3 separate regions of the Homo sapiens genome follow, and regions 1 and 2 are each linked to region 3. The links are contacts of gene promoters, found by promoter capture Hi-C in blood cells and fetal thymus (Javierre and others, 2016). All regions are on one chromosome and are shown on one strand. The core of a region is centred on a gene start or on the middle of the fragment in contact, and the rest is flanking DNA. Distances in the headings are between cores, read along the strand shown. Region 1 overlaps PARAIL (palmitic acid regulated anti-inflammatory lncRNA). Region 2 overlaps PARAIL (palmitic acid regulated anti-inflammatory lncRNA). Region 3 holds the start of OSGIN2 (oxidative stress induced growth inhibitor family member 2).

Region 1 (3,976 bases), core at 1,463-3,962, 160 kb after region 3:
TGAGTTTCTTGTAAGCAGCATATAATTAAATCATGTTTTTAATCCATCCTGCCAATCTAAATCTTTTAAATGGAGTATTTATTCCATTTACACTCAAGGTTAATATTGATATGTGAGGTTTTGTTTCTGTCATATTGTTAACTGTTATCTAGTTCTTTTATAAATTCTTTGTTTCTATCTTTTTCTCTGTTTGTCTTTCTGGTTTGGTGGAGTTCTGTTGTGTTGCTATTTGATTCCTTTCTCCTGCTCCCTTGTGTGATTGTTTTATAAAGTCTGTGAGTTTTATACTTTCATTTCCATGTTTAGGACTCCTTTGAGCAATTCTTGTTTGGCTGGCTAGTGGTGACAAATTCCCTCAGTGTTTGCTTGCCTGTAAAAGGCTTTATTTCTTCTCCATTTATAAAGTTTATTCTGACAGGATATAAAATTCTTGGCTGACATTTTCTTTTAGCTCTTTGAAAATAGCATCTCATTCTCTTTTGGGTTTTAAGGTTTCTGCTGATAAGTCTATTAGTCTGATGGGGATTCCTTTATAGGTGACTAGATGCTTTTCTCTTTCTGATTTTATAATTATTTCTTTCATGGTGCCTTTTCACAGTCTGATTATATGGCATGAAGTCTGTTCTGCAATTGATTTTCTTGACAATCACTGGGGCTTTTGATATCTGAACGTCTAAATCTCTTGCTAGACTAGGGAAGTTTTGTCAATTATTCCCTTATATAGGTTTTCTCAACTTTTTACTTTTTCTTCTTCCTCAGGAATACAAGTGTGATTGATTTATGTGGTCTCATATATCTCAAAGGGCTTGTGCATTCTTTTTTGTCCTTTTTGTTTTTGTCTGGCTTAATGCAAAAGACTTGTGTTCAAGTTCTGAGATTCATTCTTCTGCTTAGTCCAGTCTACTTTTAATGCCTTCAAATTTATTCTGTATTTTCTTCAATGAATTTTTCATTTCCGGAAGTTCTGTTATTTTTTAAGATGTTTATCTTCTCAGTAAATTTCTTGTTTATATCCTGAATTGATTTTCTGATTTCATTGTGTTAGTTTTCAGAACTCTCTTGGATCTCATTGAGCTTCTTTAAAACCAATATTCTAAATGCTTTACCTGGCACTCTGATTTATTTTTGGTTTGGATTCATTAACAGAAAATTACTGTACTCATTTGGGGGTGTCATAATTCCTTGCCTTTTAATGCTTCCTGTACTATTTTGCTGATTTCTGTGCATCTGGAGATATAGTTGCCACTTCGTATTTTTACATTTACTTTTATTGGGGCAGGCCTTTTCTTTTTTTTAGAATGTAACTGTAGTATATGTTGGGTAGCGTCTTTTGGCTTTTCTTCTAGGTGTGTTCAGTGCTAAAGACAGTATTGTTTCCTTGGACATAAATAGTCTTAGTGCGGTGGCTTTCTCAAATGCCAGTTTTAGTAGCAGCAACCTCCTGAGTAGCCAGGGTGGTATAGGCAATGATTGTAAGAAGCTTATCTTGTTCCCAAGTGCTCTATAGTTGTGTAAGCAAATGCTGTAATGGACTGTGCACTCCACCCTCTAGGCCAGTAAGTAGGTGACACTTGCAGGTAAGACCCATCTGCAGTGGTAGCAGTTTACAATAATTGAGGAGGTGAGAATTCTTCCTAACTCATTCTATGAAGCCAGTATCATGCTGATACCAAAAACATATAAGGACACAAGAAAAAGAGAAAACTACAGATAAACATCCCTGATTAACATACATGCAAAAATCCTAGGCAGTGTACTAGCAAGCCAGATCAAACAGCACATCAAAAAGATAGTACAGCATCATCAAGTGGGTTTTATACCACATATACAAGGATGGTTTACCATATGTGAACCAATTAATGGGCTTCATCACATAAACATAATTAAGGAAAAAACATATGATCACCTCAATAGATGCAGAAAAGGCATTTGAAAAAATTCATCCACACTTCATGATAAAAAGCCTCAACCAATTAGGCATAGAAGGAACATACCTCAAAATAATAAAAGCCATGTGTGCCAAACCAATAGCCAATATCATACTGAATGAGGAAAATGTGAAAGCATTCCCTTTAAGAACTAGAAACAAGACAGGGATTCCCACTTTTCGCCACTCATATTCAGCATAATACTGTAAGTCTTAGCCAGTGCAATTAAGCAAAGTAAAGAAATAAAAGGCATCCAAATTGGAAAAGAGAAAGTCAATATATCTCTGTTGATAATATGACCTCATATCTAGAAAACCCTCAAGATTCGATAAAAAACGCTTAGATTTGATAAATGAATTCAGTAAAATTTCAGGATAGAAAAGAAATGTACAAAAATCAGTATGACTTCTATACCCTTATATGATCAAGGTGAGAACCAAATAAAAAAGGCAATTTCAGTTACAATAACTATGAAAAATACAAAATACCTAGGAATATATTTGACCAAAGAAGTGAAAGATCTCTACAAGGAAAACTACAACAGGCTGATGAAATAAATTTTTGATGACACAAACAAATGTAAAAACATCTCATGCCTATAGATCAGAAAGTTACTATAATTAAAATGACCATATTGCCTGATACAGTTTGGCTGTGTCCCCCACCCAAATCTCATCTTGAATTGTACTTCCCATAATTCCCACCAGTCACGGGAGGGACCCAGTGGGAGTTAATTTAATCATGGGGGCAGTTATCTTTATGCTGTTTTCCCGATAGTGAGTGAGTTCTCACAAGATTTGATGGTTTTATAAGGGGCTTTCCCACCTTTGCTCTGCACATTTTGCTGCTGCCATGTGAAGAAGCATGTGTTTGCGTCCCCTTTTGCGAATGATTGTGAGTTTCCTGAGGCCTCCCAAGCCCTGTGGAACTGTGAGTCAATTAAACCTCTTTCCTTCATCAATTAACCAGTCTCAGATATGTCCTTATAGCAGTGCAAGAATGGACTAATACAGTCAATTGGTACTGACAGAGTGAGGTGCTGCTGTAAAAATGTAGATGTGACATTGGAACTAGGTAATAGACAGAGGTTGGAACAGTTTGGAGGGCTCAGAAGAAGATGGGAAAGTTTGGTACTTCCTAGAGACCTGTTGGATGGCTTTGACCAAAATGCTGATAGTGATATGGACAATAAAGTCCAAGCTGAGATGGTCTCAGATGGAGATGAGGAACTTGTTGGGAACTGGAGTAAAGGTCACCCTTGCTATGCAAAGAGACTGGTGGCATTTTGCCCCTGCCCTAGAGATCTGTGGAACTTTGAACTTGAGAGAGATGATTTAGGATATCTGGTGGAAGAAATTTCTAAGCAGCAAAGTGTTCAAGAGGAAGCAGAGCATAAAAGTTTGAAAAACTTGCAGCCTGAAGATGTAGTAGAAAACAAAAACTGATTTTCTGAGGAGAAATTCAAGCTGGTAGCAGAAGTTGGCATAAGTAATGAGGAGCCCAATGCTAATCACCAACAAATGGGGAAAACGTCTCGAGGGCATGTCCGAGACTTCTGTGGCAGCCCCTCTCATCACAGGCTCAGAGGCCTAGGAGGGAAAATGGTTTCCTGGGCCGGGTCCAGCACCCCACTTCTGTGTGCAGTCTCGAGACTTGGTGCCCTGGATCCCAGCTGTTCCAGCCATGGCTAAAGGGGGCCAAGGTACAGCTCTGGCCATGGCTTCAGAGGGTGGAATCCCCAAGCCTTGGCAACTTCCACATGGTGTTGAACTTGTGGGTGCATAGGAGTCAAGAATTGAGGTTTGGGAACCTCTGCCTAGATTTCAGAAGATATATAGAAATGCCTGGATGTCCAGGTAGAAGTTTGGGATTATTTGTTTTCTTGTTACCGAGTAGTTGAGTTCCTTGTATGTTTTGGATATTGGCCCCTTATCTAACATATGATTTGCAAATATCTGTCAATGTATGGGTTGTCTCTTTACTGTTAGTTGTTTCCTCTGCTGTGCAGAAGCTTTTTAATTTGATGTGATCTCATTTGTCTATTTTTG
Region 2 (3,911 bases), core at 823-3,322, 180 kb after region 3:
ATATAGAGAACAAAGCGATGACTCACTTAAACCCTGATAGTAGGGGCACCATATAAATTATTATATCTAAAGGGAGTCAGGTCAAAGAAGAAATCTTGCAAGAATCTGGAGGGAGATCTGTTGTCTAAAAGCTTATTAGGTGACTAGGGTATCGGTTTTGCTAGTGTTTGTTTTTATCTTGTTTTTTCCCTTCCTCAGTTCCAGCAGGCATTTTAGTGATCTCTTGAAACACGTTTTGACTCTACTTGGTGATTGAAATACACAGCCAGGCTGTGTTGCTTTTATAAGCTCTGAAAGTTTAAGAATTTAGGAAGCTAATGACTGTCTTAAATTACAGTTAAATCTAATTGATAAAATCCTGGGACATTGAACGATTGATTTTAGTATTCAGCTAATAACCCATTTAAAATGAATTCCATACTTCTTTCAACTTGCTTGACTGAAGAGTAATTTTGTCGCTAGTTACTGTATTACTGGAAAATGTATTCCTAGGCTTTAAGATTTGGGAAGCGTGTGAGTCTAACTTCTCAAACAGAATTTGACAAGGACGTAGCAGTGTTTTAAAAAGTCAGGGAAAGGAAAGAGGTGTGTTCAGCATTCCTGCCCCATCTTAACATATTCTTTTTCTCGTCTTAACAGTGGTAATATTTTATGTTATTTTGGTTTGATTTTTGTTTGTGGCATATGGCTCTGCTGTCCTGTGACTCTAAGTAGAAGAGAAAATAGTGCCAATAATTCTTCATGGAGATGCACCTCTCTCAAGTCTTGAACAATGTTTGAGGTAGGTGGTGGCCTAAATGAATGAGCATGTCATGTGTGATTACTTAGTGAGTGTAGTTTTGTAAGGCGCACCAAGGAACTGGTAATTAACTGCTAGGCATGAGATTACCCCAAGATTCTACAAACCCACCTAAGCGTTGTTATATTTGTGAAAAGATTAGAGGAGCTGAACTGTGTATCTTCTTGGTCTCCAGTGGGCAGATACAAGGGGATTGCAGCAAAGATTGGGGAAGTGGCCTCCAAGTATGCATGTGGATGTCCTCTGCTCCTCTGAAACATGACGGATGGCCATTGTCTTTGTTAGAACAAATAAAAAGCAGAAGTATATTTGCCTTTTAGAGAGAGCTCGGTGTTCCTTTTTGCCAAACACAGTACTCTCTCACACCTGCCTTCTGGGGCAGGGATATTTTATTGGACCACAGATATTCTGAGGGGAAAGGAGTTAAAAGTCAGAGCTTGACAAATGCCAGCTCCGGTGCTAATCAGCATTTGTCAAATGCTCTGATTCTAGGCTTTGAAAAGTCTTGAGTTATTAATGAAGTACCCACTATTCACTGAACACTGTGTAAAGTCCCCAAAATGGAAAGAATAATACTTGCTCGTGTCCTTTTGAAGTTCATGTTTATATTGTCTGTTTCCAGGAAAAGTGCTTTCAGCTGGGCTGATGAGAACACCTTGGCACTCTTTCCTGCAATGGGCACTGATTGAGGGTCTTCCTGGTGTGGCATCATCAAATCCCTGTTGCTCAAACCCACTAATTAGCTCATTCTTATCTACAAGTAGCAGGGGCCCTAAAGCTCTCTGAGAAGATCTCATACTGTGTCTCCTACATTTCATCTTCTATAATCTCTTATTCTTAGAGACAGAAAGATGGTTAAAAGACATCACTTCATTTCTTTCTCTGGATTTGGAAAGAGTTATATATTGGGATTATGCTGTTAGTTTACACTTGCATTGTTTAAATTAGAGGAAAGGTTATTTTGTGCAGAACAAATAAAAATTACTCTTTAACTACCTTTCAGAATATCCCAACTTTTAACATAAGCTGTTTTGTAAAGGCTGGTTGTAGTGACTTGCTTCATAATAGACTATTAAAATAAGATGCATTGAAATCTTGTTCTTTTCTTTGCAATACCATGTATCAGCTTTGTTTTGAGAGGCAAACTCAATTTTCCCCTGAAATTAGGAAATTACTGTAAGGGACTGGAATGACACACAAGAAAAGATTACATCATAGCAGGGAGACTAGCCAGTTAGAATGGGGATTTCTTTACAAACACTAGACTGGACTATGGATTATAATTTACCTAGTGTTAATAGTTGCAGTCATACATTAAGGACAATATGTATGTTCTTTAGTTTTTTGTCACTGAGCAGAGGTAGAAACAGGGAAACAACAAAGGCCGAATAATTTCCAGCCATTGCTGCTTTGTTTGCACGGAGCCCTTTGAAATGTGAACTAAGAATATTTCTCAGAAGGTTTTTAGGTGATTCATATACACAGTAAAGTTTCAGAAGTGCTATATTCGAGGGCATATGGAAACCCATGGCTTTTCTGCTAGAGGATTGTCAAAAGTCCAGAATTTCATAACTAAATACCATGAATTTAGTATAGTAGAGCACAGAACTAAAGGCTGTCTTGTGGCTGCAAAGAGTTGACTTCACATAGCATAAACTATAGTCTAAGACAGTGACTTAGACATAAGAGAGAATAGAACTTGGTAACTGGGATTGTTTTACAGCGTGATCATGTATATTTCTATATTATTCTAAAAATATTTATTATATTTATATAAAAATTGTTACAACCGTGTACAAGTGTGCATAAATAAATAGTGTATTTATGTAGTCTTTATTTGAATGTCAGGCCAGTTAGAGAAGCTAGACATGTATAACCAGTTTAGTCTTAACAATCAAGTTCAGAAAATAATATGTAGACTTCCACCTAGTTCCTTTTCTGAATAATATTATAGACTTAAGGAAGCTAATAAGAGTCCAAGATTCTCTGAGTGCCTTTGTGAATTATTTCATCTGATTCATGTATGTACCTTCATATAATGGCTTTTAATATTGAGGAATATTTGGAGATTAAAAGATTAGAGTAATTCTGAGCTCATTAAATTGTAGATTGTCATTTCTTATGAGGATTTACTTTTCTGGTACAACATGTTCTTATCACTAGTTATAATGTATTTTTTTACTTTTGGCTTAGATTTTGAGCCCTCTATTCATGACATATCAAATGTAGTTCTTTAGATATGCTGCTTTCTAATTAGGAAGCAGAATGTGATTGCCTACTATTCTCTAGCCACGTACCTACTAGTGAATATATAAAGGATGGAATTCAGGCCGTGGTTTATGAAATTCAGGCTGTGTTTTTGAGTACTTCCAAGTATGTTTCAAGTAACTTGGTTATGGTTTTGAATGACTAGGAAAATGCTTTGCTTTTTTTGAAAGGGAAATTGTTCAAAAATGAGATTCAATGGAAAACACAGAGGGTGCTAAAAATGCAGAGACATTGTATAAACCTATAAGAAATTTTACATGGAACCAGAATTTTGATGCCCCTTAAAAGGAAACCAATGAGATTCCTTATTCATTAGTACTTTGAAAGTTGGCAGTGGAATGAGGATCTGTGGAGGAAGGGACAGCTGGATCTTGCACTCAGGACTTCTGCCCTCTGCTCCTCAAAGAACTCATTAGTCACTGTTCCCACTCCCACCCTGGCACCAAGGAAAATGTGGATGTTTCCACCTTTCCCACCCAGGCCTATTTAGGGCATACAACCCTTCCTGAATTTCCTGCAGTACAGTTGAGATCACACTGTAGCCTCTAACAAGCATTTACCAGAGATTCAGCGATGACAACAGAGAACTACAATATAATGAGTAACAGATAACCACTCCATAGATGTTGCATGCATTTCCGAGTGTATACAGCCCATTCTCACCTTACAGGAGAACCAGGAAAAGAGAACAATTTGGGAAGGTCTCTTCATTTAATTTTTCCCACACTGCTGCCTCTTCTATCTTTGGCTTGTTTCTTCTTCTCACTTAGGAGGAAGTGGTTCTCAGATAATTGACTAATCACTTCTTCATGGTCGTGAACTCAAGGACTTACCTGTTATGAGG
Region 3 (4,298 bases), core at 1,501-4,000:
TAGCAACTAGTAAAGAACAGCACTTTACATGCAAAATTAGTTACTCTATTGTTAGGAAGCAAGTTAAAAGCCTATTTGACATTTAAGATGCTTTTAGAGGCCTTCCATTTTTTGTTTTTGAAACATTACAGCACAAAGTTTCAGAGAACATTTCAAAGGATAGTGTGGACATAGTATCAGGATAACAAAAAGACTTTTTCCATACCATAGCAGTACTTGTTTAAATGATCATTCAAACTAAAATGAAATGCTTTACTAACTGAATTTTTATAGTCTTTGGAACCATGAACCTAAAATTTACCAAATTTATACTACCACATGGAAAGAAGGTTCTAAAGCCACAAATGAAGTCAGTCACACTCTTCATCTTCCAGAACACGAAGGAAGAGGTTTTTTCCTTTGGAAAGTTAGTGGACAGTTCTCTCACTACTTATCCATTCAGATGTTAGACAATAGATGTCACAACCTGTTTTATAATCTGTGTTTTTTTGTGTGTTTTTTGTTTTTTTGAGACAGTCTCACTCTGTCGCCCAGCTGGAATGCAGTGGTGCGATCTCAGGTCACTGCAACGTGTCTCCTGGGTTCAAGCTATTCTCCTGCCTCAACCTCCCGAGTAGCTGGGATTACAGGTGCACACCACCCTGCCCGGCTAATTTTTGAGTTTTTAGTAGAGACGGGGTTTCACCATGTTGGCCAGGATGACCTGAACTGACCTGAAACTGCTCGAGAAATAGCACTGGTAAATCAGAAACATATTCCTGAAGGAGCTGGTAAACAACTAAAAAAAAAAATACTTTAGACACAACAGAACTGTTTTTGCAATAAAAAGTGTGGTTTATTAATCATAATGTTTATCTTTGGCAGCTAGCTTGTTTTTCTTTCTGTCCCTCCAGACCAAAACATAGCAAATACTTTGTTTTCACTCCCTACTCCAAATTTCTGTGCACGGCAGGAAGCAAATGGTATTCAACACCCAGTATTAGTCAAAAGAATATGAATCCTACACTGTGCATCAAAAGGTGTCAAATAGCTTTCACACAATATTTTCTGAAAGGCATGTTAGATTCTCATGGGCTTTATTTAGTTTAACAAGTTTCACTAGGGGAACCTATTTCCTAAAAGTTTCCATAGTGAATCTGATACCTTCAAACCGCTGTCTCAGTAGTCAACAAATTTGCCTAAAAGTTAAAATCAAGCAGTTTATTATATGAAACAATTTTTCCTTAATATCCACAACCTAGAGACTCATTCTAAACTCACTGAGAGGTTAGACAAGCTTGGATTATCGCTGTTACAAAAGAAGTTCCAAACTTTCTCTATGCCTTACATCTCTTTTACTATAGGATGACGCTTCTTAACCTCTTCTCTGAATACTGTTCTTAAATATACACAGGATTTACAAGAAAACTAATTCTATTAAAACAGTCATAAAAAGTAAACGCGATATATATATGTGCTTCTCTGTTGCATTCAATAAATTCAGTGATGTGTTACTATAATTTTGAATAAGTATAAACAGTATTTCTATATTAACTGCAATGTGATATAAACATATTTTATGATCTCTACTGATGACAGTCACAGATACTACTGTGATTTGTTGCTTATATTTTAACTGAATATTAGTTTTTAAAATTTAGTGAAATGATATACCTTTCTTTCCATCCAAGTTCATGGGTTACCTAAATTGTATGAAACCCACTATTTAGGAAGGCTTGATCAAAATTTCATATTTTACCAGGGAAGAAGTCTTACATAGAATTATTCTGGAACATCAGTATATGTAAAGCAAGGTACTAAAGTATTCCCTATGCTTAACCATTCTTCACCCCAGGGTTAAAATCAGTTTCTAGTGTCTGGTCTTTCCACCAATGACTGAGGTGTTGACCAAATGTGCTAGATCTAGAAAACATACTTTTATTTTAGAAATGTATTATATTTTATCACCCCTAAAACCTTTCCCCATAAGGTGATTGTAAAACCGCCTCATTCTTTAAATTTCTACAACACACACGTCTTACCATGGCTAACATCTTAACAAGGCAGAATCTATTTGTGATTAGATGACACTGAAATGTAGTTCCCTACCTTCCTTCCACTCATTACATTATTTAGAAGACTTTTTAAGAAATAATTTTTTTTTAGGGAGGCAGGCACTTCGTAGAACCCCCTTCACTAAAACTTTGCACTACTGGGAAGTCTCAGCTCGCCGTAACCGACTCAGTCCGGCCTAGCCGATCCCGCAGTCCCGTGACCCGCGCGGTCCAGAGCGAGAAAAGGGAACAGCGCAGGGCTCCCCGGAGCAAGGACCCCACCACACCGCACCCCACCCCACCCCCACGCCAGGCAGGACGGCCGAGGCGGGAGGACGCTGCGGTCCAGGCGCTCGCCCTCCACCCCGGTCCCGGCCCGGGCCAGGCCAAAAAGCTCGAGAGCGCGGCATCCCCGCCTGCTCCCCTCCCATCCCCGGCGAGGAAGTCACCTGAAATGACCGGCCAGGGAGCAGCGGCAGCACCACACGGGCATGGAGCGCTGCGCGAGGGGCGCCCGAGCGCGGCCGCCGTGGCCGCCTCCGCCTCCCCCGGCGAGGCTGCCCGCTCGGGGCGCCCGCTGGCTCGGGGTCGCGGGGTCTGCCGGGCGCCCCTGCCTCGCGCCTCGCCGTTGCCGCGGCTGCCCCGGCTCTGTGGCGCCGGAGTCCGCCTCCAGATAGCGGCTTCCGCTCCTCGCCTGCAGGGAGCCAGGCGCCGGAGGCGGGTGATCTCGGGGCGCCGCGATAGGGGCGGAGCGGGGCGGGGACGCTGCGACGGCGGCTGCAGCGGCGCGCGGGCCCCTCCTCGCAGGTGCGGCTGCGGCGGGCGAAGTCTGCGATTGGTGGAGCCACGGCCCGGGCGAGGGGCCGGGCCTGATGGAGCCGAGGCTGCGCGGGCAGGGGACCGAGGTCTGCAGGCAAACTGCGCGGCTCGACCGGCGGCAATCGAGACCTAGACCTCGGTCAGCGCCCCGCCGCCCCTCTGCGTGCGACTTGGTGAGGCCGGTGGGTGCGCGTCGAGAGGGCCGAGGGACGAGCGGAAGAGAAGCTGCTGCGAACTCGGGCCACCCAGATGGCCCGGCGGAGTTCCCTGCGTAAGGCGCGGCCTCGGCCACTTCGCCGAGGACCCCGGGAAGGGTCGAGCTTCCCACGCCTGAGAACCCACCTTTGGGCATTTCCTCGCGCTGCCGGGGTGCAGACGCCGGGAGCTTCCGGGTGCCTCTCCCGCTGACCCCCGCATCACAGTTACCTGGAGGACTCACCAAACCACAGGTGCCCGGGACCCGCCCACCACGCTTCTTTTATGGAAGTCCCGCTTCCGGGAAGAGGTCATCCTCCCCTCTTCATGTCTCTCAAACACCCACAAGTGTAGGAATTACCAGCACGCCGGGTGAAAATCCAGGTGCTCATCAGGCCCGCCCCAGACCACACCGGCCAGTGTGGGGAAGGGCAGGAACCCCTGCTGCTTTTTAAGCCCCTGCGGGCGTTTGTGATGCAATAGGGAGTTAGAAAAGTACTCAATAGTGAGTGTCGTTATTCGGTTTGTCAAAAATTAAAGGTGGGGAGGACAAAAATCAGGAGAGATTGATTGCATCTACTTTTCTACGGAAATGTCTAACTCCGCTTCCAAAAAAAGCCGTAATTATTTTTGTGCTTCAAATATACGTTTATGTTTATATCTTTCAACATAATTTTGTAAAACAAATGTTAAGTTTTACTGAATGTTGTCACTGAACAAACTTGTGATGAGCAGGTATTTTAGAGTCTTGGGGTCTTAAAAGAAAATCATAGGACTCAGACTGCCCCAGAGTTATGCAATCTAAGAGTATATTAACCACTTTTAAGTATTATATGTTTTTCTCTTTTTTGAGCTTTTGTCGATTTGACACGTTCATTTCATTTGAATGTTGGTTCTGAAAATGAAGCATGTAGTTACTTTTCCGTTAACATACATAACAGCATTTTAAAGTACCTAAATTCCTTTTGGAAGGCCGAGGCGGACGGATCACCTGAGGTCAGAAGTTCCAGACCAGCCTGACCAACATGGTGAAACCCGTTTCTACTAAAAATACAAAACCTAGCCCCGGGCGTGGTGGCACGCGCCTGTAATCCCAGCTACTCAAGAGCCTGATGCAGGAGAATCGCTTGAAACCGGGAGGCGGAGGTTGCAGTGAGCTGAGATCGCGCCACTGCACTCAGCCTGGGCCAAAGAGTGAGACTCCGTATCAAAAAATAATAATAAAGTACCTGGCCGGGCGCGGTGGCTCAC

The links. Contacts are between HindIII fragments. The CHiCAGO score rates a contact against its expected background, and 5 or more counts as called.
Region 1: a contact is called between a fragment that was not itself captured here and the fragment with the promoter of OSGIN2 in region 3, in 3 of 17 cell types (M0 macrophages, total CD4 T cells and monocytes). The highest score is 6.7, in M0 macrophages.
Region 2: a contact is called between a fragment that was not itself captured here and the fragment with the promoter of OSGIN2 in region 3, in 16 of 17 cell types (monocytes, M0 macrophages, M1 macrophages and 13 more). The highest score is 20.0, in monocytes.

What each region holds. Positions count from the first base shown.
Region 1 is chr8:89,743,679-89,747,654 of GRCh38, reverse strand. The region is part of intron 1 of PARAIL (palmitic acid regulated anti-inflammatory lncRNA); the gene reads left to right. Among named protein-coding and RNA genes, the nearest start is that of PARAIL, 12 kb to the left of the region's middle. The HindIII fragment of the contact is 2,459 bases long and covers 1,483-3,941 here.
Region 2 is chr8:89,718,885-89,722,795 of GRCh38, reverse strand. It overlaps PARAIL (palmitic acid regulated anti-inflammatory lncRNA), which reads left to right. Exons shown (of 5, transcript NR_125822.1): 4 at 640-781. Among named protein-coding and RNA genes, the nearest start is that of PARAIL, 37 kb to the left of the region's middle. The HindIII fragment of the contact is 3,877 bases long and covers 134-3,911 here.
Region 3 is chr8:89,901,022-89,905,319 of GRCh38, reverse strand. It overlaps OSGIN2 (oxidative stress induced growth inhibitor family member 2), which reads right to left and starts at 2,750. Exons shown (of 6, transcript NM_001126111.3): 1 at 2,483-2,750. The coding sequence starts at 2,526. It overlaps LOC124901974 (a long non-coding RNA gene), which reads left to right and starts at 2,914. Exons shown (of 2, transcript XR_007061001.1): 1 at 2,914-3,301. RefSeq lists silencers at 1,126-1,185, 2,179-2,628, 2,659-2,998, 2,748-3,046 and enhancers at 3,340-4,105, 4,106-4,298. The HindIII fragment of the contact is 4,461 bases long and covers 1,279-4,298 here.